Regions from separate parts of the Homo sapiens genome. Here all the other regions are linked to region 4. Evidence: promoter capture Hi-C in 16 types of primary human blood cells and fetal thymus (Javierre and others, 2016). All regions are on one chromosome and are shown on one strand. Each heading gives the region's core, a stretch centred on a gene start or on the middle of the fragment in contact. The rest is flanking DNA. Distances are from core to core; before and after follow the strand shown.

Region 1 (3,393 bases), core at 888-3,387, 160 kb after region 4:
TATCAGAGAAAGCAGTCCTCCAATCACGGACAGATAATGAGAGAGCCATTCCTAATGAGGGCACACACTCTTATGGCAGAAATTCTCTGGAAGATCATTTTGAGTATTCCCAATCCCTCCTGACTCAAGTGAGACAGCATTTAGGGAAATTAAAGTAAAATTTTGCCTTCTAACCAATGTGCCACTACTGCATTACTTGGATCAACATAATAAAAATTTCCTTTATAAGACTTAACTCTGAAGAGACTCATCATTTGATCACAAGGACACTGTCTCTCAGTGGTTCTCTCAAGAAATTACTTAACAAACTAAACGTAGATTTTGATTAAAATTTTGTAGAGTTCTTTAGTATATGCATTTGAACATACTGTATGATATTATGTAGTTTATTTCCAATATGAAAGAATACCCTCCAGCTCCATATTCTAAGAAACAGATATATGCTACTAATTTTTTTTTTTTTTTTGATACATGGCCTCACTCTTTCACCTTGGTTGAAGCACAGTGGAATGACCATAGATAGCTCACTGCAAACCTCAACTCCTGGGCTTAAGCAATCCTCCTGCCCCAGCCTCCCAAGTAGCTAGGACTACAGGAGTACACCACTACACCCAGTTAATTTTTTTTTTTTATCTTTTGTAGTGACTGGCTCTCTCTCTGTTGCTCAGACTGGTCTTGAACTCCTGGCCTCAAGCTATCCTCATGGCTCAGCTTTCCAAAGTGCTGGGATGACAGGTGTGAGCCACCATGCCTGGCCTGCTACTATACTAATTAATAAATACCTTGGGCCCAGAAGTTCAAGACCAGCCTCAGCAGCATAGTGAGATGCCATCTTGACAAAAAAAAAATTTAATTAGGCTGGGCGAGTTGGCGCACACCTATAATCCCAGCACTTTGGGAGGCCTAGGAGGGTGGATTGCTTGAGGCCAGGAGTTTGAGACCAGCCTGGCCAACATGGCAAAAAAAAGTTTCTATTAAAAACACCAAGAAAAATTGGCTAGACGGGGTGGTACACAGCTGTAGTCACAGCTACTCAGGAGGCTGAGGCACGAAAGTTGCTTGAACCCAGGAGGTGGAGGTTGCAGAGGATATAGTGAGCCAAGATTGTGCCACTGTACTCCAGCCTGGGTGACAGAGCGAGACCCTGTCTAATTAATTTTTTTAATTAGCCAGGCGTGGTGGCCCACATCTGCGGTCCTAGCTACTCAGGAGGCTGAGGTGGGAGGATTGCCTGAACTCCTGGGAGTTCCAGGTTGCAGTGAGCTATGATCATGCTACCTCACTGCAGCTTGGGTGACACAGCAAGATCCTGTCTCTCTCTCTCTCACACACACAAACTAAGTAAATAAATAAGGTGTTTAAGAAAGAAAAAAAACTCCTCTTTATACCATAATTTCCACATCCGATAATTTACATGAAGAAAACTATCAAAAAAGTAGAGCAAGATTTATTTTTAAAAAGATGTTCATGGAAGTGTCATAAAAGTAACAAATTCTAGGCCAGGTGTGGTGGCTCATGCCTGTAATCCTAGCAGCATTCTGGGTGGCTGAGGAGGGAGGATCTCTCACTTCAGCCTGGGAGGTTGAGGCTGCAGTGAACTGAAATCGTGCCACTGCACTCCACCCCTGGGGGTCAGAGTGAGCTTTTGTCTCAAAAAAAAAAAAAAAAAAAAAAAAAAAGGTTAAACAAAATGAAATGCCATATGCTGCCAGTACACATCATAATATCAAATAAGATTTTTCGGCCAGGCACGGGTGGTTTATGCCTGCAATCCCAGAACTTTGGGAGGCTGAAGCAGGTGGATCACTTGAGGCCAGGAATTTGAGACCAGCCTGGGCAACATGGCCAAACCCCGTCTCTACTAAAAATACAAACAATTAGCTGGTGTGGTGGGGTGGCATGTGCCTGTAGTCCCAGCTGCTCGGGAGGCCAAGGCACAAGAATTGCTTGAACCCAGGAGGCAGAGGTTGCAGTGAGCCGAGATCACGCCACTGCACTCCAGCCTGGGCAACAGACTAAGATTCTGTCTCAATTAAAAACAAAAAATGAAGGTTATCACTGGGAGAGGATTTGGGAGAAATTAGGATTTTATACTAATTCTGTACTGCCTGATTTTTCATACATCAAGTTTGTATGATGTAAAAAAAATCAACGTCCCTAGTACTATGCTAACAAATGCTTCAGCAGGTAAATTGAGGGTATATTTTATCTGTGTTCACACTGCACCCTCTGGTGTTTCCACAGAGAAAAGGCTCTAAGTAGACACCTACCTAGGGTTTATTCATATCCTTTGTCCATTTCTGTTGTTTTTGGATTGGACATATTTTTCCCAGATTTCTAATACCTCTTTGTATATTAAGGAAATTAGCCCTTATGGGAGAAAAACTTGAAAAAATTATATAAATTACATCATTACTTTTTATTTTGAAGAAAGATAACTACTATTTGATCATTTATATTACAGCAGCTAAATACCAGACTGTAGGGTACCCCAGTCCCATCCTCCCCTCCCCTGATTCCACTCCTGGCTTGCTTTCTGTGTCCTGACCAAAAATCACAGAGGGCTTTGACTGCTCTGTGAGACAGCCCAGTGCAGGGTTTTCCCATCAGGCTTGAACTCAAACCAGGACCTTAAACATTTCCAGGCACTGATAAAGGTATCTAGGTTGCTGCTCAAAACACTGAAAGAAACTGGCCTCAGCCCTGAGCCAGATTCCTTAAACCCTCATATAAACTCCATACCCAGACCCCCTCACTGTGGATATACCTAGGTAGAACACCCCTTATATCTTGTCCATTGCAAGGATTGGTGCGATACTCTGCAAGTTCCCTCAATAAATGCTTTAGACTGATTACTCTAGCTAGTGGTTCTTTCTTTAGAATCCCAACTGGCCCCAGCTTGGGACTGTTTGGGGCACTCCGTTGTGGGGATTCCCCTGCCTCCACTTTTAGATTGACTCCGGCCACAGGTTTGGAGGGATAAAACAGACTTCTGAAGAACCAATGTTCCCTATGAATATTTGAAAACCAACTGAATTGGAAAATATGAAGCTAGGACTAGATCATGTATAAGCCTGCAATGAGAAGGCCTCTTATAAACTGTTCCTAATACAATGGCAAGGCCATGTTTGTTTGTCTTTTTAAATTAATTTCTTGTTTTTCTTTGAGACAGAGTATTGTTCTGTCACCCAGGCTAGAGTGCAGTGGCGTGATCACGGCTCACTGCGGTCTCAACCTCCTGGGCTCAAGCGATCCTCCCACCTCAGCCTCCAAATAGCTGGGACTATAGGTATGTGCCACTATGCCCAGCTAGTATTTTAAATTTTTTATAGAGGTGGGGTATCCCTATGCTGCCCAGACTGGTCTCAAATTCCTAGGCTCAAGCAGTCATCC
Region 2 (3,212 bases), core at 415-2,914, 180 kb before region 4:
GTTTTGATTTGTGATCAAAAAAATTTTACTTGTGATATTTTTGAACTGGTTGTGGTTGAAATATAAGAATACTATTAATTTTTATGTATTGTTTGCAATGACTGCCTTAGTGAATGCTCCTATTACTTCTTTTTTTTTTTTTAATAGAGATAGAGTCTTGCTCTGTCACCCAGGCTGGAGTGCAGTGGTGTGATCTCAGCTCACTGTAACCTCCACCTCCTGGGTTTGAGCGATTCTTCTGCCTCAGCCTCCCGAGTAGCTGGGATTACAGGTGCCTGCCACCACACCCGGCTCTTTTTTTTTTTTTTTTTTTTTTGTATTTTTAGTAGAGACGGGGTTTCACCGTGTTAGCTAGGATGGTCTCAATCTCCTGACCTTGTGATCCACCTGCCTCGGCCTCCCAAAGGGCTGGGATTACAGGCGTGAGCCACTGCGCCTGGCCTATTTCTAATAACTTTTAAGTTGATGCCCTTAGGCTTCCCAGGTATATATGATAATGTCATTTGCAAATAATGACAATTTTACCACGTCCTTTTCAATGTTTAAACCTCATATTTTGGTTTTTTAACTGACTATACTATCAAACAATTATAATTTTTATGAAAAAAGCTTGGACTAAGACAAAATCTTTTGAACTGGGGAAAATAGTATATAGGAAAACTATTTTACACATTTTATTATTTAGATTGAGGCTTAAATGTGGTATGATATTTCCAAACTACACCTCCAAAAGCTAAGAACCAAAACTTTCACTTAAAAAGCTTTCCAGAATTGTAGTTTGTTTAAATATTCCATATCTGCATTGCTTTGAAAGAACTTGAAACAAAGTCTGAATTCCAGGTGCAGCCTGACTTTTTTCTTATCATTTCAGATAAAAGTTCAAAGGGAACTTTTCAGAGGGCTTCAGACATATCATTATCCCAAAGAGTTTATTAAATAAAGAGCTTTGGATCAGGAAAACAAGAACCCCAAGTTATATAAGGGTGAGTCTTCTGCGAATCTAGAGGACAGGCCACCAGCACAAAAACAACATTACCCCAGCTTTCAGAGGAATGCTGCAGCCTTCGCCAGGCATTGGCTCCTGTCCTTTAACAACAGTTTGTTAACACTTTCTTGAGCAGTGGGAGTGGCAGGTTTTTCACAAGGGAGACTGGGGTAGCAATCTGGAGGGAAGGGGAAGCTAGAGGACTTGTCTCAAGGCTACTTCTGCGTAGTAAATAATGTGTGTTCTAAATATGCTTTTTTTTTTTTTTTTTGAAACAGGGTCTCACTCTGTTGCCCAGGCTGGAGTGCAGTGGTGCATTCTTAGTTCACTGCAGCTTCCTCCTCCCAGGTTCAAGCAATTTTTCTGCCTCAGCTTCCAGAGTAGCTGGGCCCACAGATGCATGCCACCACACCCGTGGGGCTTTTTGTTTGTTCGTTTGTTGTATTTTTCGTAGAGACAGGGTTTTGCCATGTTGGCCAGGCTGGTCTCAAACTCCTGGCCTCAAGTCATCCGCCCACCTCTGCCTCTCAAAGTGCTGAGATTACAGGCGTGAGCCACTGCGCCCGACCAAAAATATGCTTCTGTCTATAATTACAAACTTTTGTTTATGTATTAATTATGATTCTGGAGGGGGGTTGCGGAGTTTATGAAAATTGGTGGCCGGCGGGGGGGAGATAAGGCTCTCCCAGGCCATTCCTTCCCCTTGCCAGTGCTGTAAAGAACTGTTCTAAATTGATGGAGAGAAGATTTCGAGTGCTATCACAATACACACATGCAAACACACACACACACAAAGGTAACATGAGGAGATGGATATGTTAATTTGCTTGACTGTAGTAATCGTTTCACTGTGTTTATGTATATACTACTTAAAATATACACTTTTTATTACAAAAAAAAGAGACAAAAATAAGTCGTATGGAAATATAAAGTTTAAAAAGATACAATTCTTGCCCTCAAAATAGCATATAGTCGAAACAAAAGGGTAGGGCACAAAGAGAGGGCAAAGCATGAATCAAAGAAAAAGACTGAGGTAACTGCTGATTATGGGCACAGTACATAACCAACTGTTCCACCTTGAGGTTACAAATGAAAACATCAATGTTGAGGGCTAAGTTGGTTTTAAATTCTGACTTAACACGGTGTTGATGGTGGCAAAAGACCTCCATGGAAGGGGGTGTAGGAAGAAGGAAGGAGAAGTGTCTTTTTCCTAGCACCCCCGGAAATGAGGTCCTAAGCCCTGTTGAGTCCAGAGAGGCACCTCGTCCCATCACACAGCTAATTATGTAGCAGCTCTTCGGGAAGAGGGGTTTCAAATCCTCCAGAGAGTTCAACACAGGTCTGGAGACTGAAAACAACCCAGGTGGAGCAGCTTCATTCAGCACTTACTGTGTAAATATGTTATTAAGCACTATATTGGGGATAAAATAGGACAAATATGTTCTCTATCTTCAGAGATATTGTTTGCAATGGAAGAAGTTTTCCTCTCTGCCACCTCACAATCACACTCAGGATCTTACCTGTGCATAATCATTCAGAAGGATCCACCAAAACAACTGGGCTTGCATTTTCCAGAAGCTTCTTGTCCTCGAGACTGTGTGCTCCTTATGAATAGAGTGCAAACAAATGCGACAAAAAATGTAGAAGATGCTCAGCCCATTATTATTATTATTATTTTTTCTAAAGATAGGGCATCACTGCAGCCCAGGCTGGAGTGTAGTGGTGCAAACATGGCTCACTGCAGCCTCGACCTCTAGGGCTCAAGCAATCCTCCCACCTCCCAGCCTCCTGAGTAGCTGAGACCACAGGTGTGTGCCACCATGCCTGGCTAATTTTATAATTTTCTGTAGAGATGGGGTCTCCCTGTGATGCTCAGGCTGGTCTCAAACTCCTGGCCTCAAGCAATCCCTCCACCTTGGCCTCCCAAAGTGGTAAGATTACAGGCATGAGCCTGGACAGTTCTCTTTAACTCTCAAATGCCCACATCAGAAAAGACAGTACAAATGTAAGCTGATTTTCCTATTTCTCTTTAGGGGCACTGTGTTAACAACAGTTTCTAACTTAATGAATGCCAATTGTGAGCCAATTTAAACCAAATAAACCAGGCCAAGTCATTCTATTACACAGTAGATCAGAGCAAAACCCATTCTAGCCTGGACCAGTGGCATCCAAACAATAACCTAAATGCCTGGGGAGAAAGGCCAATTTAATTAACATTCCACCCTGA
Region 3 (3,224 bases), core at 632-3,131, 220 kb before region 4:
GGCGTGGTGGCTCAACGCCTGTAATCCCAGCACTTTGGAAGACCAAGGCAGGCGGATCACAAGGTCAGGAGATCAAAACCATCCTGGCTAACACGATGAAACTCCGTCTCTACTAAAAATACAAAAAAATTAGCCGGCTGTGGTGGCGGTCGCCTGTGGTCCCAGCTACTCGGGAGGCTGAGGCAGGAGAATGGCATGAACCCAAGAGGCGGAGCTTGCAGTGAGCCGAGATCGCGCCACTGCACTCTGGGAGATAGAGCGAGACTCCATCTCAAAAAAACAAAAAAGATTGTACGTTCCTGAATTGATATCAGCATTTGGCATTATGTGTCTGTGTGAAAAGACATTTGAAATATATAAAGATGTAAAATCTCATCACATTAATAGATGAACATTTACAATTTATTTTGATAATAGGGAACACTAACAGTGAACGCCAATTAAGCAAAACTATCATTCCCCCAAAAGAAAATTTCATTTTTCTCATTGGTAGAACTATATTATAAAAAGGTTGTCCTCAATTTTTATTATATTTTGAATTTTGTCGATAACAGCTTTATGGCTTCTTTTTCCTCTCTGTTATATAAGTACCCACATAATATCTTGATTCTGATTCTTGGCTACAAAGCCTAAAATATTTACTATCTGATCCTTTACAGGATAAGTTTACCAAGCCCTGGAGTCTAAAGGACTCGAAAGTCTTCGGCTTCCTTAGGACTCTTTTCAAGGCCCTATTTCTTTCTCATTCTTCACTAGATCCTTCCCTCACTTTACTACCCATGATTTCATTATGATCTATAGGAAATCTGCCAAATGTACACCTTCAGCTTAGAACAAATTAATCAACAACCTACTTATTTTTTTCATCCTCGCTGCCTCCATTCTAGTCCAAGCTACCAATATCTCTCACCTGAACCATTGCCACAGCTTCCTCAAGCCTCAGCAGCCAGACTGACCTCTCAGTACGGAAATCTGGTCCCCTCTTCTCCCCATCTCCGCAAAGTCTCTCAGTGGAATTCTCATTTTTCTCTAAAACAAAGTCCCAAATCCTTACAATGGACTACAGGGCCCCACATGGCCTTGCGTCCGCCCACCTCCAGCCTGTCTCACTGCCACTTTCCCTGGCTTCCCTCCACTCTGGCTACCCCAGAGCCATGCTCTCTTCTGCCCCAGGGATTTTACACATTTTCCCTTTGCCGGAAATGCCTCTGATCTTCCCTGTCTTCATCTCTCACCTCCCCTTTTTGCTTGGTTAGCTCTGATAAATGTGCTTCTCAGACAATCATGTCTCCCTAGAACTCTACTCCTTTGGTTTAAATGGACTCTTTTTACAGTTGAAGAACCCTTACTAACACTCTGGAATCTTATGCTTTTAACTGCCATTATTTGTTTTGAAGATATCCAGTTGTATTAATTGTGTTTTTTATTTTCTGTATTTCATGATGTTTTGACATCTTGCTGGCCAGAGAAAGACTGCCCCTTTCAGGTCTTGCTAATTCTTAGAGATAGCAAAGGGCTTGGCTAGGAGCACATTTTTCATATACAAACCAACCAATCCCAAGTCGATAGCCCTGCCATCTCCTTATCGATCTCTCAGACACCAAACCAATATTTCCCCTGCTCTAAATCAGGCAACTGCAGACCACTCCTATAGCCCAGAGCTGGTCAGAATTATTCAAACTAGTCAATCCCAAGCTGCTTTCTCTGCTCTGCCTTGCCTTTCCCAAGGAAACCTCAACAAAGACTCACGTCTAAGCTTCCCCCAGCTCCTGTCTTCCGCCACATGACCAAAACTTGACGATTCCCTTGTGGACCTGTGTGGTATGTGGTGACCCCTCTCTGGGCCTGTGAGTACAGTAAACTTCCATTCAAGCCTGGTTGTCATTTCCTTCTGTGGTCACACCCACTTTGCCACGCCATATTCAAATTTTCATTTTTAAAACATCAACCCTGAATAACCCCCACATGATTTGGGTTCCTTTTGGTTGCACGTAATGGAAGCTTTACTTAAAGTAGGTTAAACAAGAAAACTTATTGCACACAATAGGAAGTTTAGCAGTAAGGAAATTCAACTACCTTATGACCAAGTTTTTTTCCATCTTTCTGGATGGAAAGCCTCCCTCATTGTTGGCTTATCCTTAGGCTGACAGCAAGATGAAGGCAGCAGTTCCTGGGATCATAACCTAGTGTTACTTTTTTCTGTGTAGCTCTTTCATAGAAGCAGAAACTTTCCCTAGAATCCCCTTAACAGGACTCCTATCATATTTTGTTGGCCCCTTGGGTCATCTGCCCATTCCTGACCAGTCATTGGCATTTAGGATGGGATTTATCCGAACTACCTTTGGAATTGGGAGGGTGGCATTCACTTGGGGCACGTTGATGCAGGAAAGAGGGATGAAGAAAATGACATTCTTTTGGGAGGGAGAAGGGGGAAATGGATGCTGGGAAGGAAATTAACTTGTCCGCTACAACCCTCAGCAAGAACTTACTCTCTGCCTGATCAGATAATCATTGCTGGAGAAAGTCATAAAATTGTCCCAATTTTCTTCTCTATTGTTTCTTCTGATTCTTTTTACACTGAAATTGATTTCTTTCATTTTATGTTCTTCCAGAAAATGTTTAAACATGTAATGTGCACCAGAACAACCTGGAAGGCTTGCTAAAATGCAGATTCTAGTGCCCTGCACCCAGAAGTTCTGATTTAGTAAGTAGTCTCAGACCATTTTAAAAGAAGTGCTGACAAAAAAGATACCACATTCCAGCTCTTATGAATGTTCCTGAAACAGTGAGAGGGTAACCAGACTGGAGACCCCATCATATGAGGTAGGTTATTTTGCTTGTAAGTAGGATGATGCAACTATTGAAATTTTCTTTCACAGGAACCTGAAAATATTGCACCATAACTTTCTCTCCAGCAGCGTTCTAAGAATATTTCCTAGTTTTACCCTTTCATCGCACATAAAGCAGTGAAAAACTGTTGCAATTTTATCAATATGTTTTTGTAGGTCTGGGTTCTAGAGTCACTGAGTTCAAAACTTCTCCAAGACAGAGAAGACAGATTGCCTAAATGATGAATCTGGTGTTAGCTGCTTTCAGTTCAGCCCAGTTTTCTGACATGGACAGAATCGATGAAAAGCAGCTTCTTCATTGAACCAGTGAGACAAGTAGAACACTTTTCCCTCTGAATGATAATTTAAAACATATTTTAATGTGTATTTTACACT
Region 4 (3,465 bases), core at 486-2,985:
CAGCACTCTGCAGAGTGTGTTCCTTAGGCAGGGCCCTGCTTGGGGATCAGGAGACTAGGCTGAGGTCTCAGTGCTGCTCCCAGTCCACTGTGGGATCTTAGATAAATCACTTCTCCAATCTGATCCTTGTTTTCCTCTTCCAGCTATGGGAGCAAATATGCCTGAACTGTTTACTTCTAAGCATGGTTGCCAGAATCAAATGTGAGAAGGAGGTTTAATTCAAAGCAAGTGACAGGTGTTGGGCAAATGTGATATAGAGAGGGTAGGCGGGAGCTTGTCTCCTCTGGTTGGATCCAGAAGGGATGCACTACCAGGTGCTCATGTATTTAGTGCAAGCTTCCTGCTCTCTCTCTCTCCACCCAGAGTCAACAGGGAAACAGAGGCAGCAGAGGACTCAGGCTGGGACTCCTGAGTGCGAGTAAGGAGTACCTAAAGCCGGCGAAGACCTCCTGAAGGCAACCTGGAGATTGGGGTTAGGATAGAGGAAGAAAGGAGCTCAGGGAAAGCCTCATCCCCAGCCAAACATCAGGGTTCCTGGATGGGTTGTCTAGAGGAGAGAACCCAGGGAGTGACCTCATCCCTACTCCATCTCCTATTAAATGAAAAAACCTAGGCCCTGCCATAACTGGAAAGCTCAGTATCACCTGCTGCATTTCACAGAGTCTGTCCAGGTGCTGGCCTTTAATAGTGCATGAAGAGCTGGGCTCTGGATGGTTGAAGCTGTAAAGCTGGATATACGGAAGTAGCCACAGCGGTCCTTCCCTGATCCCAAGATGTCATTCCCCTCCCCCGCCACCACCATGTCTTCAGGATCCTGGGCCTCAACGCTAATGTACCACTCAGCCCCTAAGGGCATGAAATGGGCTTTCAGACCAGGCTGTGTGGGGATGACCTGAAGAGGAAGGTGGACATGCTTAATAACCACTCCTTGTGGGTGGGTTGCCCTTAATGATTTACACAACGATGGGGCAGTAACTTCTCAACAACCTTGACAGGAAGGTTGCCCAGGACAGGGCAGTGAAGCCCCAGGCAGAGCCAGCGGCAGAACCAGAGAGAGAACACAGGCCTGCCTGTTCTTGCCCCACATGGCTGCTTTTCCAGCCTGAAGCCCTAGAGTGGTGACCCTGGTGGCCCTGAGGTGGGAGGAAGATGGGTCAAGGCCATCTTGGTCCTAAGGGAGGGCTGAGGGGGAAAGCTTGGATCCTAAAGCCCAAAGCTCCCTCCCTGGTATGTTGTGCTGGTGCCAGGAGAAGAACCCGCAGGCCCAGGCAAACTAGGCCACCCAACATTCCCAGGTCCCAAAGAACCCAGTCTCTCAAAACCTTGATTGGGCAGAGGACAGGCCCTAACAGGACCGGTTTTAGCCTTAGGATAAGATCGGAGGCGCAGGGGGCTAGCATTCCCCTTTCTTCCATAACGTGGAGGAGCTGCGGCTCCCCCGCCACCCTGCCCTTGGAGCTCCCTCCCCCGGAGCGCCCAGGCCCGCGGGCCGGGAAAAGCCCTCCCAAATCTGACCTGCGGCCACGGCGTCACCAGAGCCCGGGACTGCAACTTGTCTCCGGCCTGGCTGCCAGCTGGGCCCGCGGAGCCCTCTCTCGTCCGGTGCCTCTGCAGCTCTGCGCCGGGACGGGCGGGGCTGGGGGTGAGGAGGGGAAGGCACGGCCCGGCTCGGCTCAGCCACGGGGCGGGGCGCAGTGGGGCGGGATGGAGTCTGGCGCCTGGGGAGGCGCGGAGGTGCTTCCAGCGGACGGCAGCGCGCGAGGTGAGACGGCGAGGGCTCCCGGGGCGCAGGTAGAGATGTTCCGTCGGTGCCGAAGGCCCGGCTAGTGCGGTTGTGTGGACGGCGAAAAAAGCAAGTCCGCCTTCACAAGTCCCATGGGGCTGGGGAGAGGGTGGGAGGCGGAGAGGGTATGGGGAGGGGAGACTCTCCTCAGATCCTCTCGACACCGTCGGGTCTGGGCTCCAAGTCCAAGGCCATCGATCACCTGCCACCCACAGACCAGGCCAGGCGTCAAAGCAAGTCACCCATCCGACCTAAACCCCTCTAAGACCCCGGAGTCACGTCTCCCTCCGGGGATCCTCGTGAGGTCTTGGGGGTCCCACCGCCCTGCGAGCCGCGCCCGCGCCCCGCCAGACCCGGAACTGCGTCGCTAGGTTTGCGCTGGAGCTGCTGGGATTGCTGGGCATGGGTGGGGGGGCGCAGAGGAGGAGGGGGGATTGGAGGGACCTCTGCGGAGCTGGCAGACCCCGGTACTACTGTCCTGGCGCACCCAGCCCTTCTCTGTACCAGGCCGGGAGAGGGAGGCGGCGCCGCAGAGCCTCGGGTGCAGTCTGAGAAGTTTGGGAGTGACTTGAAGAGTGACTGGAAGCACCCCAGACCCGGTTTGTCCGGTCACAGCCGGGTCCTTACGTGAGTTAGGAGAGGAGTGGGGGTCGGACGGGAGCCCCACTGAGAGTAAGGGCGCGCGTTTGTTCACAGAACGTCGGGACCTGGTTCCCTCTTTAATCACACCCCCGGGGGCGCTTCGTGTGAGGTTCCACGGGGGAAGGCGAGAGGCGCAGGCTGCCACACACGCACTGTTTGGAAGAGGGGAAGGTAGGGAATAGTGGTCCGGGTGTGGGTGGTGGGGGATGCGGCTGCTTAGATCTGTGCGGTCCAGGTGATTTTGGAGGGGGTCTTGAAGTGCTTGCTCCCGCCCTGGCACCTAGGGCTGCACTTCCTGCTTTCATCCAGACCAAGTTCGGATCAAGTGGGAGTTCTTCAAAGAGAGAGTTTGGTAAGAAACTGGGGAGGCAAGGAAAACCTCTTAAGGCCATAAATGCCACAAGGTTTATAGACATCGAATCGCCATCCCAGTTTAACTCGAGTCTGGATACTTTGGCTTGCATGATTCTGCACCCTTGAATTCCTTATCCACATCAGCCCTTACTGGGGAATCCTGCCTCCAATCCACTTTTCAGATCTTGTTCAATTTCTCCACTTAACTCCTATTTTTGTGCAACAACACACATATACATTCATACACAGATACACACGTACACACAGACCCCTTCCTTGAAGAGGAAAGTCTAGCACAGGAGTTCCTGACAGGGTCCCCTTAGCTAGCCACAGCTGTAAACGTTTAATGGGGTCTACCCCAATCAGAGAAAAAAGCATCACATTGCAGTAGCTGTGCATTACCAATCAGAGGTCTTGGCAACTCCAGCCATGTCACCCACTCCCCACTTGTGGAGAATTAGTGGCCCTTACTCTATAGTTTCCAGCAGATGGGGGAGGTGGGCAAGGGGGAAGACTTCAGGAAAAAAGTCCTGTCAGGCTACAAGAGAGGCCACAAGACGTTAGCACATAACTTTGAATGAAGAAGGCTGGAGGTTGTTCTAGGCTGAATTTTCTTAAAGATTGTAACTTTATGTTTTACCCACCTCTCATACACACATAGGAACTCCACTTCAACCTGTGGTAGG
Region 5 (3,425 bases), core at 432-2,931, 190 kb after region 4:
CAGGGTCTCACCTTGCTTGCTGAGGGTAAGTGTTAAATCACCCTTGTGACTGGCAGCTTTAAGCAAGTGCCTCATGAGGTAATAACCTACATTGGTCACATTGATTTTTTTATTTCCTTTTTTTTTTTAAATTGAGGCAGAGTCTCACTCTGACACCCAGGCTGGAGTGCAGTGGTGCGATCTCGGCTCACTGCAACCTCCACTTCCCAAGTTCAAGGGACTCTCCCACCTCTGCCTCCTGAGTAGCTGAGATTACAGGTGCCTGCCACCATGCCCAGCTAATTTTTTTTTTTTTGTATTATTAGTAGAGACAGGGTTTCCTCATGTTGGCCAGGCTGGTCTCGAACTCCTGACCTCAAGTGATCCACCCGCCTTGGCCTCCCAAACTTCTGGGATTACAGGCATGAGCCACTATGCTGACCTTATTTCTTTATTGAAAAATAAATAGATAACAATAAAAATTTTAAGTTGTAAAATGATATTAAATGAAAAGCATCTTGTCTTCCCTTCCTATCCCACTATCTATCACATATCTCTTAATTTTCATAATTTCCATTATTTTCATAAATAAGGGCTGTTTCTTTTATGAATTACTGAAAGCAATTCAAACTGGCTTGTAAAAAAGTGAAGATGAATGACCCCTGAAAAATGAACATTTTCAGATTTGTCTGGATTGGGTTTCAATTTTTTTTCTTTTCTCTTTTCTTTTTTTTTTTTTTTTTTTTTGAGACAAGGTCTTGCTCTGTCACCCAGGCTGGAGTACAGTGACACAATCTTGGCTCACTGCAGCCTCAATCTCCTGGGCTCAAGCAATCCCCCCACCTTAGCCTCCCAAATAGCTGGAACTACAGGCATGCACCACGCCTGGCTAATTTTCATTATTTTTGTAGAGATGAGATTTTCCATGTTGCCCAGGCTCGTCTCAAACTGAGCTCAAGCGATCCACCCACCTCAGCCTCCCAAAGTGCTGGGGTTACAGGCGTAAGCCAATGTGCCCAGCACTTTACTGTCTTTTACCATTTATCTCTTATATGGGATGAAGCACAGTGATTTACCAGGCCTGAGTTATGTGACTAATTTTATGGTGTGGATTGGGATGGATAATGTGTTTTCTGAAAAAAAAAAAAAAGAAAAGAAAAGAAAGAAAGAAAGAAAAAAAGAGAAAGAAAGAAGGAAAGAAAGAAAAAATGCAAGATACTGTTAACAGAAAAGGAAACAGGTGATAGGTAAGTCAATATTACAGATATTCACATTTAATGTCAATTTAAAATATAATGCATGTATTGCTTTTTTTTCTTTTTTTTTTAACTGGCGCCTGGCTCATTTTTGTGTTTTTAGTAGAGATGGGGTTTCACCATATTGCCCAGGCTGGTCTCAAACTCCTGGCCCCAAGTGGTCCGCCCATCTTGGCTTCCCAAAGTGCTGGGATTACAGGCATGAGCCACTGTGCCCAGCCTATACTTGTTTTTTTATTGTGGTAAAATGTTTGTAACATAAAACTTACCATTTAACCACTTTTAAGTGTACAGTTCAGTGCCACTAAAGTGCATTCACAATGCTGTACAACCATCACCATTATCCATTTCCAGAACTTTTCCATCATCCCAGACAAACTCTGTACCCATTAAACAGTGACTCCCCAGCCTCTAGTAACCATTATTCTGCTTTTTGTCTCTGTGAATTTGCTTATTCTAGGTACCTCGTGAAAGCGGTATCATACGGTTTTGTCTTTCTGTGTCTGCCTTATTCCACTTAGCATAATGTTTTCAAGGTTCATCCATGTTGTCGGCTGTATCAGAATTTTATTCCTCTTAAGGCAGAATCATGTCCCGTTGTGTGTATTGTACAGATGCTCTCAATTTATGATGGAGTTACATCTCAATAAACCCACCGTAGATGGAAAATATCGTGTTGCAAATGCATTTAATACACCCAACCTACTGAACATCGTAGCTTAGCCTAACCTACCTTAAACATGCTCAGAACACTTAGATCAGCCTACAGCTGGGCAAAATCATCCAACACAAACCTTCTTTTATAATCAAGTGTTGAATATTTCCCGTAACTTATAGAATACTGAAAGTAGAAATCAGTATGGTTGTACGGGTACTTGAAGTACAGTTCCTATTGAATGGTTATCACTTTTGCACCATTGTGAAGTCAAAAAATATTAAGTCAAACCATCGTAAGCTGGGGACTATCTGTGTTTGTTTTTGAATAGATAGTACATGCACAGAGTACAACATTCAAAGATGCAAAGGACCTAGAGTGAAGAGTAAATCTCTCTCTTATCCCTTCCTCCTCCCAGCCCCAGCTCCCCTCCCAAGAGACAACCAGTGTGACTGCATTCCTGTGTATCTTTTCTGAGAGTGTCTGCACACTCAGCATCTAGGTTTAAATAGTATTTAAAAATATATTTTCACACAAGTATTAGTACACCAGGCATATTGTTCCTGCATCTTGCTGGTATCTTCTTTCTTCACCTCCCCCTTCTTTTTTTTTTTTTTTTTTTTTTTTTTGTGACAGAGGCTTAGCTCAGTGTGCTAATCCAGGGGTTTTTTGAGACGGTTTAGGGGAAGGGAAAAGGTTGATATAATAATGCAGGGTTGCTCCTCGGGGTATCGATCTAGAAACAATTTTACAGAACTTCAGTTGTAAACTCAATAACATTACTTGTATAATGGTGATGGCCATGTTGTTGTTTTAATCAGTTGCCTCGTTTTAAAGTAAATTTTTATGGAAAACACATTCAACTATCATTAAAAAAATGAAGTTAAGCTGTTGGGACCATTTCTTTAAGATTTAACAAAAGTTCAGCCTTTTAGGTAGTTGAAGGGAAGTACACCCCGTATTCAGCACATGTTGAGTTTTCTACACCAGGAATTTTCAATGTGTATATTGATGAAAACAAGCTCAATTCAAACTGGACAGTTTTAAGATAATGTTAAAATCAGCACTTTTAGAGACAACGAAGGCCAAGAATCAGTACAGTAGTATTCCAAAATGATTTTCTCTAGAAATTTGAAAGTGGATCGAATAGAATGTTTTCAACCGCCTACCAGTACAATCTTTTGTGGAAGATAGTTTGAAATCACTTTCTACTTTGTTAGTAAAGTTCTCTCTCTTTCCAGAGCTGCAAGTTTTAAAGTGTTACTTATACAGACCAACAAAGAATAGTGCTGAATTAAGTGGCATTTAGTATCTAGAAGCCATTTTGATCCAAGAAGCTACTTAAGTGTCAAAGTCAGCATGAAGCACATGTAGCTTTTCTGTAAACAAGGGTGTGATACGAAAACTGCTTTTTTAAGAAGAGTAAAAGCACATTCCATGTACGTAAGTGAATTTTAAAAATAAATTGAGGCAAACAGTTAAGAAGTTTTATTTTTAGAGCAACAAGTTAACTGTAAATATTTTAATGTTAGTTT
Region 6 (3,466 bases), core at 231-2,730, 200 kb before region 4:
CTGCTCTGGTACGGAAGTGATTTCTCGGCCAGGCATGGTGGCTCACGCCTGTAATCCCTGCACTTTGGGAGGCCAAGGCAGGCGGATCACAAGGTCAGGAGTTCAAGATCAGCCTGGCCAACATGGCCATCTCTGCTAAAAATACAAAACTTAGCCGGGCGTGGTGGTGCATGCCTGTAATCAGCTACTTGGGAGGCTGAGGCAGGAGAATTGCTTGAACCCAGGAGGCGGAGGTTGCAGTGAGCCGAGATTGCACCACTGCACCCCAGCCTGGGCAACAGAGTGAGACTCCATCTCAAAAAAAAAAAAAAAAAAAAAAGAAGTGAAGAAATGATTTCTTTTTTTGTTGCTATCCCTACTTTTATACCTAAATTTTGGCCAACTAATGTATACTGAAAATATAAATAGAGCATACAGGTTCCAATGATGAGTTACTTTGTTGATAAAGAAGCTTGTGGGTGAAGTGTTAGCAAAACCTTTTCTCTCCTACATGAAAATTTGACTTTTGGTTAACTTTCTACATCTTTTCCACTGGCAACCTAATAAGGACTGTGATACTGTGATATAGTAAGAAATACATATTGGGTCTTCAGGCCCCCAGTTTCTGGTACAGAGATTCTAAAATTCTGGTAACTTCCCGAGTGATAGGAGTGACAGGAGCGTCTTTTGTTAAAATCGCTGGTTTTTATCCCTGGTTCCAGGCGCAGAGCTTCTAAAAACTCTTTGAATTTTCTGAGCAATCGAGGTGACAGGAGCATCTTTTGTTATTTTCAACAAGCTCTTTTCGAGTGTACATGAATTATGTTAATTAGATGACTGGTGGCTGGAAGCCCATAGATAGCTTCAGGATGGGCACTGGTTGCCAGAGGAACCAAACATGTGATTATAGAGGATTGGAACTTTCAGCCCTACTCACCCCGAGGGAGGGAGAGAAAAGCTGGATTGAGTAAATCACCAATGGCCCATGATTTAAGCAATCACGCCTATGTAATAGAACCTCCATAAAAACCCTAAACAAAGGGCTTCAGAGAGCTTCTGAGTTGGAAAACACATCGAGCGGCTGATGAAGCCATCCCCACAGGGTTGACAAGGATTTCATGCTGAGTTCTGGGCAGAAATTTCGTTATAATTAAGCCTTAATCAGGCTGCACTTTGGCTCATTTCCTTGTTGCTGAAAGTCAATAGCACTAGATACTGCCCATTTGCACCCCCATTATTCCTATAGACAGGATCACCGCCGTTAGAATCATATGGCTTTTGTTTGAAGGTTGCCTAAGATGTTTTCAGATCCCAAACTCCAGTGAAACAGCTGAAACCAACCAGTTTGAAGACCCCCACAGAGAAATGGAATCAGCATGAGAATACAGCTTCTTCATCTTTCTGTCCCATGACTTTACCCTGCACTCTTCAACCAATCAATGATCTTCACACTTCAGCCCACTCCAAAACCCTTAAAATCTCTAGCCCCAGGCCGGGCACGGTGGCTCACGCCTGTAAACTTTGGGAGGTCCAGGTGAGTGGATCACCTGAAGTTAGGAGTTCAAGACCAGCCTGGCCAACATGGTGAAACCCCTGTCTCTACTAAAAATACAAAAATTAGCTGGGCATGGTGGCAGGAGTCTGTAATCCCAGCTACTCTGGAGGCTGAGGCGGGAGAATTGCTTGAACCTGGGAGGCAGAGGTGGCAATGAGCCGAGATGGCACCATTGCACTCCAGCCTGGGCGACACAAGCAAAACTCCATCGCAAAAAAAAAAAAAAAGCCCACAAAATCTCTAGCCCCAGATTGCTTGGGAGATGGAGTTGAGGTTTCCTCCCATCTCCTAGTTCGGAGACCCTACAATTAAACCTCTTTCTCTGCTGCACCCTGGTGTCTCTGCCTACTGACTTGCTGTGCACATGGGACAATGGATCTGCTACAGTTACACCGAGAGGGTGGGGTGCCCAGGGAGGGCACTGGAGCTCTGCACATCTCCCGTTTCACACCTTGTCCTCTGCCTGTTCATCTGTAGCCTTTATAATATCATTTATAAATAAACTGCTAAATGTCAGTATAATGATTTCCTGAGTTTTACAAGCCATTCTAGCAAATTATTGAACCTGAGGAGAGGGTTGTGGAAACCCCTAGTTTATAGCCATTAAGACAGAAGTATGGGAGGCTCAGCTTGTGATTGGCATCTGAAGTCTTGTGGGCAGTCTTGTGGGACTGGGCCCTTTCAACTGTGCCATCTGATACTAACACCAGGTAACTAGTGTCAGAATTGAATTCAATTGAATTATTGGATACCCAGTTGGTTTCTGGAGAGAAGGAGAATTTGAGGTTGGCATGGGAAAAAAAAAACACCACATATTTGGTGTCAGACATGTTCTATGGGTAAAAAATAGATCATAGTAATACAGTTCCCCCTTGAACAAGCTGGGGGTTAGAGGTGCTGACCTCCCAACACAGTTGAAAATCTAAGTATAATGTTTTACTTCCCAGGAACTTAACTACTTGATGAGAAGCTTTACCAATAACATAAACCGTTGATTAGCATATTTTATATGTTATATGTATTATATACTATATTTATACAATGAGGAAAGCTAGAAAAAAGAAAAACATTATTAAAATCATAAGGAAGAGAAAATATATCTTTATTAAGCGGAAGTAGATCATTATAAAGGTCTTCACCTCATCATCTTCGTGTTCAGTAGACTGAGGAAGAAGAGGGAGAGAAGGGGTTAGTCTTGCTGTCTCAGGGGTGGCAAAGGCAGAAAAAAGTTCATATATAAGTGGACCCATGCAGTTCAAACCTGTGTTGTTCAAGGGTCAGTTGTAGTAGGAGAAGGAGAAGGAGAAAGGAAACTATGTCACTTTTGTTGCTTGACAACCTACTTATGGTAAAATGACCCTGATTGGTAAACTGTATCTGAACTAGTTAAACTATAAATTTCTGTTAAGAGGTTTTAGTTTGAGATTCCCTGAGTACTGTGTCTCTTGTAACAAATATGTCCCTTGGAAGGACTCTAAAACTGTCTGTGAAGTTCTTATAAGACATAGTTGCTGGCCGGGCATGGTGGCTCACCCCTGTAATCCCAGCACTTTGGGAGGCTGAGATGGGAGCATCGCTTGAGGCCAGGTGTTTGAGACCAGCCTGGGCAGCATGGTGAAGCCCCATCTCTACATAAAATACAAAAATTAGCTGGGTGTGGTGGCGTATGCCTGTAGTCCCAGCTACTCGGGAGGCTGGGGTGGGAGGATCACTTGAGCCCGGGAGGTTGAGGCTGCAGGGAGCCATGATCACACCCCTACACTCCAGCCTGGGTGACAGAGCTAGACCCTGTCTTAAAAAAAAAAAAAAGAAAAAAGAAAAAAAAAAGAGAGAGAGACATAGTAGCTAATGTGAGGCATTATTATTATTATTTTTTTTTTTGAGACTGAATCTCCCTGTCACCCAGGCTGGAGTGCAGTGGCGTGATCTAGG
Region 7 (3,159 bases), core at 255-2,754, 250 kb after region 4:
AAACAGTTTTAAAGATCACTGGTAAATAAAAAATGTCTTCACAATTTAGATGTTTGGTCTAAATAAGGTCAGATGTTAGGTTTGCTAAATGCTTTAAAGTCATAAACTGTTTCTTTGACTTTCGAAAATTGTTAGACTTACCTACTTTGGAGCCATTAGAAATTCTAGCTAAGGTCTGGGGACATGTGGAATTAGCCATGCCCCCTAGCTATGCTGGAGGCAGACCTTATCTGCATTTCTGTCTGATGTCCTAGGCTCCACACTTAGTACATAATTAAAACCACTTATTTATCAGGGTTTTCATCAAAAACAAAAGTTGCTAAGTGTTAACGTTGTAACGTGTAATTGAGACTGCTGGAGAAATTGTTTTACATGCAAGATGTGTAAGGAAAGTAGAATGTGCTTTAGCTAAAGGATTAAATAAGGTAAGGGAATATGGCTTTTGTCAAAGGGAATGTAATTTTGTCTAGTTCAGAGGGCTTTAAAGATCGTCTTAACCTAAAAGAGTAACAGGACAAAACTGAAGGTTTAAGCAAGTTGAAAAGTGTTTGTGAAGGGTTGGTCTTAAGTTTTGAAGGGGATTATTTAATTTTTTTCTGTATGTTGAACATAAAAGCACACTAATGCCGGGCCAGAATCTGGGCCCCTGTGTCTAAACAAAAGGGTTTTCTTAGAAAATTAATCTGCTGTTTAATGGAAAATTGTAAAGTGTTCTAAAAAAGTTTATAAAAACCTTACCTTATGGTCAAACTAATTAAAACTGGATAATTTATAACATTTTATTTAAAAACTAGCTTTAGCATTAAAGAGGCATTAATGCAAACATGAAATTTGGTTTTCTCTTTTGAAAAAGATTTTTGTGTTATTGATATATGTTCCAAAATTATGTGAAACTCCTGTAATTCTGATATGACTTTGTATATGTTATCATTAATAATTATAATTGCTATGTTAAATTATTGTGTTCCCCAGAAGTAACAAATTTCCTTGTCAATTGTGTCTTTAACTGTGGCTGGCCTAAAACTTTTTGTCATCCACAGACAATTATTGTCTTTTGATCCTCTTTAAATGGTTTTATAATCAGCTATAACACTCTGACAGGTGCTCTTAAATGCAGGTTTCTGAAAACTTTGGAGATTGTGACATTAGAATAGAGGAAAAACTTTCAGGACTCTCATTGAGAGCTGAAATGTTCATGAATACTAAGCAGAATGGAAGTTAACTGCATGGGCTGAACTAATAGAAGACTGAGGCAACTTTTTTTGACTTTTTGTTTAAAACATTGCTGATCATTTTTTGTTTTTCAGAGCCAAGAAAACCTTTCTTTTGAGCTATTTACAGCTTTTAATATTGAGTAAAGTACACATCTGTAAACAAAATTTGGAGCATATTTGATTCTCTCTTCCTGATTTTGCCAGGATTTGGTAACTATTTGTGAGTATTCTTATGGCAATATAGTTACTTCCATAAGTGCAATAAGAATGTTTTCATTTGCAACAGGACAAAATTGAAGAAACTGGTTATTTTACCAAGGCTTTGACTGGAATCGTATGCTTGCCTTTAAGGAATAAAAGCCTCTTGAGGCCAGGCATGGTGGCTCATGCCTGCAATCCCAGCACTTTAGGAGACCGGGGCAGGCAGATAGCTTGAGCTCAGGAGCTCAAGACCAACCTGGGCAACTTGGTGAAACCCCGTCTCTACTTAAAATACAAAAATTATCTGGGTGTGGTGGCACATGCCTGTAGTTCCAGCGACTTGGGAGGCTGAGGTGGGAGGATTGCTTGAGCCTGGGGGATGGAGTTGCAGTGAGCAGAGATTGCATCACTGCACTCCAGTCTGGGTGACAGAGCAAGATCCTGTCTCAAAAACAAAACAAAACAGAGAAAACAAAGCCCCTTGGGAAAACTGGCCTCATGCCTTGTCTACACAGTCCCTGTACAGGGTTCCTGATCTGTGGTGAGTAAAGAATGTCACTTTCTAACAGGCCCAGGAGCCCCAAGTTATCTTGGGACCTCAAGAGGAGAGGAATTGACCCAACTCATGGTTATTTGAGGGTACAAACCCATGGGCTTGGCCTGGCTTTAAAAAAGTCTTGTTTGAGATTCCTTATGGAACAGAGTTCCATCAAAGCCAATTTAAAAAGCCTATGTGAACAATAATTATTGTTGCTGCACTTATGCAAGTAATCAGGCAGAGCATAATAAGACTAAAACTTATTTTGCAAGTAAAGTTGACCTACTGTGATTTATTTTTAATTAAAAAATGGGGACTGGAGACAGAAAAATTATGCTCCAAAAATAAAAAACAATCATTGTTAGTTGTTCTTGAGTTTTTTCTGCAGTTTGGACTAAATCCTAAATTATTCATGGACTACAAGTCTCCAAATTAATGTTTTCAAATCTTTACTTTTAAAAGTTGGAATTGCATGCCTTATGCTAGAACTCATTATTTACTTTGTAGTGTGCTGTTCCCTTAAATGCAATACTAAAATTATAGATGACAATACTAACACATTTTTCAGCCATCCTGCGTGAGTATGTTCAGACAGTAGCAAAATGATTCCAGTCCTCTCACCTTGGGGTCAACACCTACCCCGACTATGCCCCTGGTCAGCAGGAAGAAGTTAGAGTGGTCTTTGCCCTTTCTCCATCTTCATTAGCCAACACCTTAAGATTAAGGTGTTATAAAACCCAAAGGAAGGGATTGAAAACGCCATTGCAAAAACATAACTGAGACAGTAAAAGAGATCCAACCTAACCAAGTCCGTCTTGCTTCTAACCTCCAAGCTGTCCTTGTTCATTCCTGGGCAAAGTCTGAAATAACTTTGTGGGGAACTTAGTTTTTTTGTTTTCTGTTTTTTTGAGACAGAGTCTCACTCTGTTACCCAGGCTGGAGTGCGGTGGCATGATATTGGCTTACTGCAACCTCTGCCTTCTGGGTTCAAGAGATTCTCATGCCTCAGCCTCCCAAGTAGCTGGGATTACAGGTGCCCACCACCATGCCCGGCTAATTTTTGTATTTTTAGTAGAGACAGGGCTTTGCCACGTTGGCAAGGCTGGTCTCAAAATCCTGACCTCAGGTGATATGCCTGCCTTGGCCTCCCAAAGTGCTGGTGAGAGGTGGAGCCAGCTGGACTTCCTGGGCCAAATGGGGACTTAA

Evidence for each region. Contacts are between HindIII fragments. The CHiCAGO score rates a contact against its expected background, and 5 or more counts as called.
Region 1: a contact is called between a fragment that was not itself captured here and the fragment with the promoter of DUOXA1 in region 4, in 1 of 17 cell types (naive B cells). The highest score is 5.3, in naive B cells.
Region 2: a fragment that was not itself captured here is called in contact with the fragment with the promoter of DUOXA1 in region 4 in 1 of 17 cell types (M2 macrophages); the score reaches 5.5 in M2 macrophages.
Region 3: a contact is called between a fragment that was not itself captured here and the fragment with the promoter of DUOXA1 in region 4, in 4 of 17 cell types (naive B cells, total B cells, M1 macrophages and 1 more). The highest score is 6.5, in naive B cells.
Region 5: a contact is called between a fragment that was not itself captured here and the fragment with the promoter of DUOXA1 in region 4, in 1 of 17 cell types (neutrophils). The highest score is 5.0, in neutrophils.
Region 6: a fragment that was not itself captured here is called in contact with the fragment with the promoter of DUOXA1 in region 4 in 2 of 17 cell types (naive B cells and activated CD4 T cells); the score reaches 5.6 in naive B cells.
Region 7: a contact is called between a fragment that was not itself captured here and the fragment with the promoter of DUOXA1 in region 4, in 1 of 17 cell types (neutrophils). The highest score is 5.1, in neutrophils.

Annotation. Positions count from the first base shown.
Region 1 is chr15:44,966,871-44,970,263 of GRCh38, reverse strand. All of the region lies in intron 5 of TERB2 (telomere repeat binding bouquet formation protein 2), which reads right to left. It also overlaps the pseudogene LOC100187725. Among named protein-coding and RNA genes, the nearest start is that of TERB2, 12 kb to the right of the region's middle. The HindIII fragment of the contact is 5,681 bases long and covers 1-3,393 here.
Region 2 is chr15:45,308,578-45,311,789 of GRCh38, reverse strand. No RefSeq gene overlaps it. Among named protein-coding and RNA genes, the nearest start is that of SLC28A2-AS1, 31 kb to the right of the region's middle. The HindIII fragment of the contact is 1,802 bases long and covers 764-2,565 here.
Region 3 is chr15:45,351,066-45,354,289 of GRCh38, reverse strand. No RefSeq gene overlaps it. Among named protein-coding and RNA genes, the nearest start is that of GATM, 26 kb to the left of the region's middle. The HindIII fragment of the contact is 245 bases long and covers 1,759-2,003 here.
Region 4 is chr15:45,128,149-45,131,613 of GRCh38, reverse strand. DUOXA1 (dual oxidase maturation factor 1) reads left to right here and starts at 1,735. Exons shown (of 9, transcript NM_001276266.2): 1 at 1,735-1,762; 2 at 1,999-2,154; 3 at 2,480-2,596. DUOX1 (dual oxidase 1) reads right to left here and starts at 1,620. Exons shown (of 34, transcript NM_175940.3): 1 at 1,516-1,620. The HindIII fragment of the contact is 6,225 bases long and covers 1,198-3,465 here.
Region 5 is chr15:44,941,992-44,945,416 of GRCh38, reverse strand. No RefSeq gene overlaps it. Among named protein-coding and RNA genes, the nearest start is that of TERB2, 13 kb to the left of the region's middle. The HindIII fragment of the contact is 6,507 bases long and covers 1-3,425 here.
Region 6 is chr15:45,324,399-45,327,864 of GRCh38, reverse strand. No RefSeq gene overlaps it. Among named protein-coding and RNA genes, the nearest start is that of SLC28A2-AS1, 47 kb to the right of the region's middle. RefSeq lists an enhancer at 673-1,603. The HindIII fragment of the contact is 2,053 bases long and covers 454-2,506 here.
Region 7 is chr15:44,876,345-44,879,503 of GRCh38, reverse strand. It overlaps the pseudogene SORD2P. Among named protein-coding and RNA genes, the nearest start is that of TERB2, 79 kb to the left of the region's middle. The HindIII fragment of the contact is 7,075 bases long and covers 1-3,159 here.